Regions from separate parts of the Homo sapiens genome. Here region 2 is linked to region 1. Evidence: promoter capture Hi-C in 16 types of primary human blood cells and fetal thymus (Javierre and others, 2016). All regions are on one chromosome and are shown on one strand. Each heading gives the region's core, a stretch centred on a gene start or on the middle of the fragment in contact. The rest is flanking DNA. Distances are from core to core; before and after follow the strand shown. Region 1 holds the start of TAF6L (TATA-box binding protein associated factor 6 like). Region 2 has its middle 13 kb from the start of SCGB1A1.

The links. The method cuts DNA at HindIII sites, captures the fragments that hold promoters and counts their contacts. A CHiCAGO score of 5 or more calls a contact.
Region 2: a fragment that was not itself captured here is called in contact with the fragment with the promoter of TAF6L in region 1 in 3 of 17 cell types (total B cells, naive B cells and naive CD8 T cells); the score reaches 8.6 in total B cells.

The regions. Positions count from the first base shown.
Region 1 is chr11:62,768,386-62,772,861 of GRCh38, reverse strand. It overlaps TAF6L (TATA-box binding protein associated factor 6 like), which reads right to left and starts at 1,466. Exons shown (of 11, transcript NM_006473.4): 1 at 1,372-1,466. It also overlaps a transcript of TMEM223 not described here. RefSeq lists enhancers at 877-1,016, 3,179-3,228 and a silencer at 1,207-1,616. The HindIII fragment of the contact is 6,431 bases long and covers 1-1,815 here.
Region 2 is chr11:62,429,090-62,433,992 of GRCh38, reverse strand. It overlaps a transcript of AHNAK not described here. Among named protein-coding and RNA genes, the nearest start is that of SCGB1A1, 13 kb to the right of the region's middle. The HindIII fragment of the contact is 7,397 bases long and covers 1-4,903 here.

The DNA.
Region 1 (4,476 bases), core at 217-2,716:
AAAAAAAAAGATCTTCTAAAAGAAAGAAAGAAGAACTATTCTTTTTTTTTTTTTTTGGAGATGATGTCTGATGTCTCACTCTGTCACCCAGGCTGGAGTGCAGTGGCTTGATCTCGGCTCACTAAAACCTCCGCTTCCCGAGTAGCTGGGATTACAGGCCTGTGCCGCCACACCTGGCTAATTTTTGTATTTTTAGTAGGGATGGAGTTTCGCCATGGTAGCCAAGCTGGTCTGGAACTCCTGACCTCAGGTGATCCGCCCACCTCGGCCTCCAAAGTGCTGAAATTACAGGCGTGAGAGCCACCGCACCTGGCCCGACGAGCTTTTTTTTTTTTTTTGGAGACACAGTCTCGCTCTGTCACCCAGGCTGGAGTACAGTGGCGTGATCTCGGCTCACTACAACCTCTGCCTCCCTGGTTCAAGCAATTCTCCTGCCTCAGCCTCCCGAGTAGCTAGGACTACAGGCATACGCCGCCATGCCCAGCTAATTTTTTGTATTTTTAGTAGAGACGAGGTTTCACCGTGTTGCCCAGGCTGGCCTCGAACTCCTGAGCTCAGGCAATCCAGGTGCCTCGGCCTCCCAAAGTGCTAGGATTACAGGCGTGAGCCACCGCGCCCGGCCACGAATAGCACTGTACTATGCCTGAGACACAGCTAAGTGCTTTATATGGATTACTTCACTATATTCTCAATAATAAGATATTATTATGTATTTCGTCTATTTCACAGGCAAGGAAATCAAACCTCAGAGGCTAAATGTTCCATGACTTCTCCAAGATCATGAAGTAAGCACTGAGTAAGTAGGGAGGGGGAGCAAGGACTCAACCCCTTGCTCCTAATCTTTACTCTATACCGCATTCAGGAGCCGCCAGCTGTATGGGGAACAAGGCCTGGATCCCACCCCAAAGACATGGATTGGAGACCCACCCCTTGGTGACCCTAGACCCGCCAATAGATCGTTGTGAAGCTGCAGTTTCCCTATCTGTAAAATGGGAGCATTTAGTCCACCAGCGCGAAAGGCACGGAGGGAGTTTCCCTATTATATGACCGTACACGAAATCTAGACTGTGACCAAAGTCTCCCGCTCCTCAGCCTCCTCTCCTCCGCATCCTCAGCCACTAGTCACGCTGGAGAGGAGGCGTGGGAACTGACCTCCGCGGGCCGGGCCTCGGCAACGCGCATCCTCCCACCCGGCCTAGCCCAGCCCAGATCGGGGAGGGGGTGCGCGGGGGGAGGAGGTCAGGGGTCACTGAACTTGGGTCACGTGGTCAGCCAAGGGGGCGGGCCCTCGCGGTGCGGGCTCCAAGACTGGTGAGTAAGCAGTCGGCGTCGGGAATGGGGAGTCCTTGGACCAGAGCAAGGCCTGCTCACCTGAAGACCCCGGCGTGGCGAAGGCTGCTACCGAGACGACGGCGGCGGGGGCGGTGGCGGCGGCGCCCACTCACGAGCTCACACTCATTCCCTCTCCCGGGGCCCCGGCCCCGCCCTCCCCAATACAGCCAGTCGGCGGGCGCCTTGGAAAGTTTCCGGCCCTCCAGGAGGCTTCCTGGCTCTTGATTGGCCAGTGTGAACAGACTGTAGAGACCGGCGGTCACGTGACGCTGAAGATTCCCGCTTCTTAAAGCAACCTCTCTTGCTACGTTTGCGAGTAGGTGTGTATTGTTTTAACACACGTTTAATAAGCATATTTTATTTTTTTTACCACCACAATAGTAACGAGGAAATAAACAGTCTCAAAGACAGCGTCTTGATTTTCTTTGTCTTGTTTGCTCGCGAGTTTCTGAGCACCCGCATTTTCGCGACTGCAGCAAAGCTTTAGATTTTGGTGTCTGGCTTAGTTTTCCTGCCCGGCCTACCTCCCCAACATCACATGCCACTTCCCCTTCCTGAAGGGATAGATGGGGCTCTCGGTAGGTGTTCTCGGCAGGCAGAAGGGACTTCTGACCCGGCCGAACATCCCGTGCAAGCTCCGGACTCCAGGGTTCTGCTCTTTCTGCACCTACTTCGCATTCTCCCCACGCCTGTGAACCAAATACAAGCCCTGGCCTACCTCGCCTTGCATGACCGTTGGACACGCACACTGACAGCTCTCTTTCTCCAACTCCCACTGCAATAGCAGCTACTTGGGCAGTTCTTAATTGATAAGCAGTGGGCTTAGTGAGTAAAGGATGGTATTTGGAATCAGACCGACCTGGGTTAAAATTCTGACACTGCCTTTGGGCAAATTACCTAATATGGAGTAATAATGCGCACTTCACAGGGTTGTTGTAAATTAATGTCTGTGAGAGTCCCTGGCAGAGTTGGAGGTTAAACTTCTTTCCCGGCCGGGCGCGGTGGCTCACGCCTGTAATCCCAACATTTTGAGAGGCCGAGGCGGGGGATCACCTGGGGTCGGGAGTTCAAGACCAGCCTGATCAACATGGAGAAAAATCCATCTCAACTAAAAATACAAAATTAGCCGGGTGTGTTGGCACATGCCTGTAATCGCAGCTACTCGGGAGGCTGAGGCAGGAGAATTGCTTGAACCCGGGAGGCGGAGGTTGTGGTGAGCCGAGATCGCGCCACTGCACTCCAACCTGGCCAACAAGAGTGAATCTCCGTCTCAAAAAAAAAAGAGAGAAACTTTCTTTCCCTCACATGTCACAAGGCATACAGTGAATTCCTTTAAGTTCACCCAAGATGGGGTAGTTTGCACTGAGTGAACTGTGGGAACATTCTGCAAGGGAGCATGAATGTACACATTTTTTCTCTTTCCCCCTCTCAGGGTTAGATGCTGCTGCCGCTGGAAAAGAAAATCCCCTGGGACCCGAGCTGGCAAAGCCAGATGGATGCGACTGTGGTTGCCATGGCAACCCCACCTAAGGAGAATGTGACCCTGCTGAGTCTCTTCCACTCATATTCAGAACCATATTAGAAGTGGTTTCAAGTGTCTGCCCACCTGTGCGTTAAGGGAAAGAGAGAGGGCGCTCTCCTCTAAGGTCTGACTGAGCCTGAAGTCAGCTTAGCCAGACCTGGGCAGCTGGCTGACCTCCTTGCTTAGGTTTACTGTTCTGGACAGCCATCAGCAACCTTGGAGACACTAGAAGATGGGAGGGAGACCGGGACTGCCCGGGACCTATTAGATGTAGTGAACCTGTATCCAACCTGTCTGGAGCTCATTTGCTCCCAATCTGAGTGGAGGCAGGAACCAGGGAAGGCAGTAGTGAGACCTCCATGGCCACAGATGGGAGAAAGGTGGCTCGCTCCACACACCCAATGCCTGGCAAGAACTATGATGGCTTTGGTGTCAGACTTTTTTTCTTTTTTCCTTTTTTTGAGACGGAGTAACACCCTGTTGCCCAGGCTGGAGTGCAGTGGCGCAATCTTGGCTCACTACAACCTCCACCTCCCAGGTTCAAATGATTCTCCTGCCTCAACCTCCCAAGTAGCTGGGATTACAGGCACTTGCCACTACCACCAGCTAATTTTTGTGTTTTTAGTAGAGACAGGGTTTTCACCATGTTGGCTAGGCTGGTCTCCAACTCCTGACCTTGTGATCCACCCGCCTCTGCCTCCCAAAGTGCTGGGATTACAGGCATGAGCCACTGTGCCTGGTCAAAGTCAGACTGTTTTTATTCATTTATTTTTATTTTTATTTATTTTTTGAAACTGAGTCTCGCTCTGTCGCCCAGGTTGGAGTGCAGTGGCGTGATAGCTCACTGCAACCTCTGCCCTCCCAGTTTCAAGTGATTCTCCTGCCTTAGCCTCTGGAGGAGCTGGGATTACAGGTGTCCGACACCATGCCTGGCTAAGTGCTGTAAGTTTTGTATTTTTAGTAAAGATGGGGTTTCGCCATGTTGGCCAGGCTGGTCTTCAACTCCTGACCTTGTGATCCGCCCGCCTCAGCTTCCCGAAGTGCTGGGATTACAGGCATGAGCCACCATGCCCGGCCAATTTTTTTTTTTTTTTTTTTTTGAGACAGAGTCCTTGCTCTGTTGCTAAGGCTAGAATGCAGTGGAGCAATCTCAGCTTACTGCAACCTCCACCTCCCCGGTTCAAGCGATTCTTGTGCCTCAGCCTCCTGAGTAGCTGGGATTACAGGCACGCACCACCATACCTGGCTAATTGTCGTATTTTTAGTAGAGACTGGGTTTTGCCATGTTGGCTAGGCTGTTCTCAAACTCCTGACCTCAAGTGATCCGCGCACCTCGGCCTCTCAAAGTGCTGGGATTACAGGCATGAGCCACCACAACAAGCCCAGACTGTTTTTAAAAAATCACAGCTCACCAGCTGTGTGACCTTAGGCATATTAGTTCACCTGTCTGACCTGTCTCATCAACTATAAAGCGGGATAACGAAATCTACTCCATGGAACTGTTGTGAAGATTCAGAAAAGTGTGTAAAGGATTTAGCATGTTGCCAAGCACATGGTACTCTATTAGCCTGTGACCGCTTTAGGAGGCTGTAACTTTCAGAATCCCTTAGTACCAACCTTAA
Region 2 (4,903 bases), core at 2,310-4,809, 340 kb after region 1:
ACCTTCTTTCAGTTGGTGCAAAGTTAACGAACCATCTTCTGATTTTATGGAGAGATGCAAATAGTGTGTTGAATATAAATCTCTTTGTTGTTGTTTTACAGGACTGTAGAAGCGGCCAGGAAGAAAACCACCCCCTCTTAAGGTTGTTTTTGTGACCGTTCTTTGGAGCATTGTTCTAAAAATGGGAAATTACATATTGCTGTGCCAAGGGCAACAAACACCTGCAGTTAAAGGAATACCTTCCGCGAGGCGGCTTTTCGGAGCATGCATGTTTATAGCTCCAGCCAGGCCAGACCGAGGGCTGCTGCATAAGCCCTGCTTGGTGCATTTCTTTACTTGCAAGGGGACAGAGTGTGGGCTTAGGTTTGGGACTAGAGGGGGCTTTGGCAACTATGGTGCTCAGGTGATTATCCTTCGCTCGTTTATCCAATAAACATTTATCAAGCATCTGTTCTTGTGTCAACCTTTGTGGTTTTCTCTGTTCCCTTCCCTGGCGTTGTGAGAATCCCTGGGAGAGTTGGCCACAGGCAGCAGCTTGCTGTCACTATTTTTTTTTTTTTTTCAGTTTTCAGAGTCAGCACATGACTGCTGCCTCCACATGACCGAGAACCCCCGCGCGTTCTCTCCTTTCTCTCTTTTCTTTCTCCCTCTTACACCCCTTGCTCCCCCTCCCCTTTCTCTTTCCTCTTTATTTATCTAAAAAAGGAGAAATGTAATCTTTTTTTTTTTGAGACAGTGTCTCACTCTGTCACCCAGTCTGGAGAGTGCAGTAGTATGATCTCAGTTCACTATAACCTCCACCTCCTGAGTTCAAGTGATTCTCGTGCCTCGGCCTCAGTAGCTGGGATTACAGGCCTGCCACCACGCCTGGCTAATTTTTGTATTTTTTTTTTTTTTTTTTTTTTTTAGTACAGACGGGATTTCACCACATTGGCCAGGCTGGTCTCAAACTCCTGACCTCAAGTGATCCACCTGCCTCGGCCTCCCAAAGTGCAGGGATTACAGGGATGAGCCACCATGCCCGGCCAATACATGTATTTTTTAACATGCCAATCGATACGTTTCTTCAGGCACACGCCTTTTCAAAGTTTCCTGTCACTGGGGGTCAGTCTGAAATTCTTATTCTATGGTAGCAGACGTTAAAGGATAACTTTCGATTATCTGGTTAATATTTAACTTTTATCAACATTGATATTGCAAAATAATCAGGTCTTGAAATTTATCAAGCATGAAATGAATACCATTCAGATGGATTTGTGGTTTAAGAGGAATCCAGTTTCATAAACGAGTCTCATCTTTTTTTTTTCTTTTTTTTTTGAGACAGAGTTTTGCTCTTGTTGCCCAGGCTGGAGTGCAATGGCGTGATCTCGGCTCCCTGCAACATCTGCCTCCTGGGTTCAAGCGATTCTTCTGCCTCAGCCTCCCAAGTAGCTGGGATTACAGACACCCGCCACCACGCCCAGCTAATTTTTGTATTTTTAGTGGAGATGGGGTTTCTCCATGTTGGTCAGGTGGGTCTCAAACTCCTGACCTCAGGTGATCCACCTGCCTCAGTCTCCCAAAGTGCTGGGATTACAGGGGTGAGCCACCGTGCCTGGCCAACTAATCTCATCTTTACCTAGAAACAGAAAAGCAGGGAACAACGGAATACGATGAACTTCAAACTTTTTTTGCATTTTGGTTAGAACTTCCTGCCCACAGAACATATGAATTCCTCAAATGGGTCAGCCACAGAGTAATGGGAGGTCTTTTTGGGGGTTTAGGGTCATGTCTCAGGGGCCACTTGGTTATTGATATGGTCCTCCTGGAAGCAGAGAGATGGAATAAAAAGGTCGGGAGGCCAAGGCGGGCAGATCATGAGGTCAAGAGATCGAGACCATCCTGGCCAATATGGTGAAACCCTGTCTCTACTAAAAATACAAAAATTAGCTGGGCATGGTGGCATGCATGCGCCTGTAGTCCCTGCTACTTGGGAGGCTGAGGCAGGAGAATCACTTGAACCGGGAGGTGGAGATTGCAGTGAGCCAGGATGGCACCTCTGCACTCCAGCATGGCAACAAAGTGAGACTCCGTCTCAAAAAAAAAAAAAAAAAGGTCTCGAGTCCTGTAATATACTTAATTTACTGTCTTGGCTTCCACCTTGGTTTCAATTTTTCCACTAGAGGGTCAAAAGTAGAATCCTGCTGCTCTGATCAAGTACTTGACGCAGATGTACATTCGAATGATTTATTTTCCTTTTGCTTTCTTGGGTTTTCTAATTTTTCTACAATGAGTGGCAAGATAACTAAAATGTGAATCATGCCTTCATAGGACTCACATTCTAGAGAAGGCAACAGTTAGAAGCAAACATGCTATAGTAAGATAAATACATGATTTATCCCACTGTAAATACATGCCCCAGATTAGGGGCGTGGAAGCTCAGCAGCAGAAAGAGCCCCTGAACCTCAGGGCACAAAGTGCTGGGTAGGGAGAACAGGGAGAAAGAGCCCACAGACTAAGTCGTGAAAGAATCTGAAGGGGGCCAGACTTAGCAAATGAAATACAGTATGCCCGTTAAGTGTGCATTTTAGATAAATAATGAAACAATTTTTAGTATAAGCATGTCCCAAGTGAGTCATGAAGGATGGAGTTTGGTTCTTCCAGGGACTTTGGGAAGGGAAAGCATTTCAGTTAGCGGGAACTGTTTCTGCAAAAGTGTGGAAGTGTGAATGGCATGGATTTGTTGCCTGTTTCAAATGTGAACGTCTGTGCCTCGACATGAATCGACAAGCCTTACTCAGAGGGCAGTTTTATTTCCGAGCATCATCCACTGCTGCACCCTCAAAGTGAAGGGTAGGTGGGAAGCAGCAGGATTTGAGGCCACAGTGGGAAGCAGGGCCACCATCTCCAGGAGCCTTTGATGATGGGTGAGGGGTTTGGACTTTATCCAACAGGGGACCAGGAAGAGGGAAGGATTTTAAGCAAAAGCATGAACTTCCTGTTTGATTTTTGGCAATCATGGGAAGGAAGTAAGACTAAAATCTTAGAGACTATTTAGGAGGCAGATTAACGGCCCCTCAAGGATCTCCACGTCCTAATCCCCAGACCCTGTGCATGTGTTAGGTTACCTGGCAAGAGAGAATTAGGGTTGCACATGGATGAAGGTTTCTCATCAGCTGACCGTGAGAGGGGAGGTTGTTTTGGAGTATCTGATGGGCCCAGTGTAATCACAGAGATCCTTATGAATGGAAGTGGGAGGCAGAAGAGGAGATCAGTGTCGGAGAGAGAATTGCAGAGGCTGCCCTGCTGACTTTGAAGATGGGGAAGGGGCCATGAGCCAAGTAATGCGGGTGGCCTTTAGAAAATGGAAAAAACAAGGAGACAGATTCTCCCCTGGAGACTCCAGAAAGAATGCAGCCTGCCAACACCTTGGTTTTTAGCCCAGTGAAATGCATTTCAGACATCTGGCCTCCAGAACGAGAAGATCATAAATTTGTGTGTTTTTAAGTTATTAAGTCTGTGGTAAGTTGTTACAGCAGCCATAGAAACTAATGTAGAGGCTGTTTGCAATGATCCAGGTCACAGATGGTGAAGGCTTGGAATTGGCAATAGGGTCAAGAGAAGGGGATAAGGGCTGGGCACGGTGGCTCACGCCTGTAATCCCAACACTTTGGGAGGCAGAGGCTGGCAGATCATTTGAGTCCAGGAGTTTGAGACCAGCCTGGCCAACATGGCGAAAACCCGTATCTATGAAAAAAAATACAAAAATTAGCTGGGCATGGTGGTGTGCGCCTGTCATCCCAGCTACTCAGGAGGCTGAGGGAGGAGGATTGCTTGAGCCTGGGAGGCGGAGGTTGCAGTGAGCAGTGATTGCAACCTTGCACTCCAGCCTGGGTGACAGAGTGAGACCCTATCTCAAAAATAAATAAATAAAAAAAAATAAAGGGATCAATTCCATGTAAGTTGAGATGGACTCAGAGACCGACTGGACGCCTAAGGTCAGGAGGTCAGGAGATCCCCCAGCCCAGCAACCCTTTCTCCTCTCCTGATGCCCCAAGGCCTGCTCCTCCTTCCACAGCTCCCAGGGAGCCTCTGATCAAGTCTCTATCCTGTCCCAGGGCTGATTAGTACCTACTTTTGTGACAGGGGCCTAACAGGGAATTCTTTTTCATTTTTATTTTTGAGATGGAGTCTCATTCTGTCACCCAGGCTGGAGTGCAGTGGTGTGATCTCGGCTTACTGCAACCTCGGCTCACTACAACTTCCGCCTCTGCAACCTCTGCCACTGCAACTTCTGCCTCCTGGGTTCAAGTGATTCTCTTGCCTCAGCTGTAGCGGGGACTACAGGCATGCGCCATCATGCCCGGGTAATTTTTGTATTACTAGTAGAGATGGGGTTTTGCCATGTTGGCCAGGCTGGTCTCGAACTCCTGACCTCAGGTGATCCGCCTGCCTCAGCCTCCCACAGTGGCTTGAGCCACTGCACCCAGCCCTAAGAGGGAACTCTAAAGGAAGCTCTGTAGGTATCTGCCTCGTGGTTACACACACAGGGTGGCTGTGAAACCGCCTTTGCAAAAATTACAACTGAGGAAATTATGACAGTGAAAGAGATCAGACCTAACCGACTCCATCTTCCTTCTAACCTTTAAGCTGTCCTTGTTCATTCCTGGGCATAGGCCTGAACTAACTTTGGGAAGGAATTCAGTTCATGTTTTGACTCTGAAACAAAATTGATAATAGCCATTTCCCTAAAAAAAACCCCATTCTTGCCTGTGGACCAGTCTGCCTTTGCAAGACTAACAAATTAGCTACAAGATTAGAAATTTAGTTTAGCGGTCATGCAGCCTCTGGCTCCAAGAGTCTGAGCCTCCCCAGATTGCTCCTGCAGATAACATCACTATTGTAAAACCTAAGATCAGTGCTT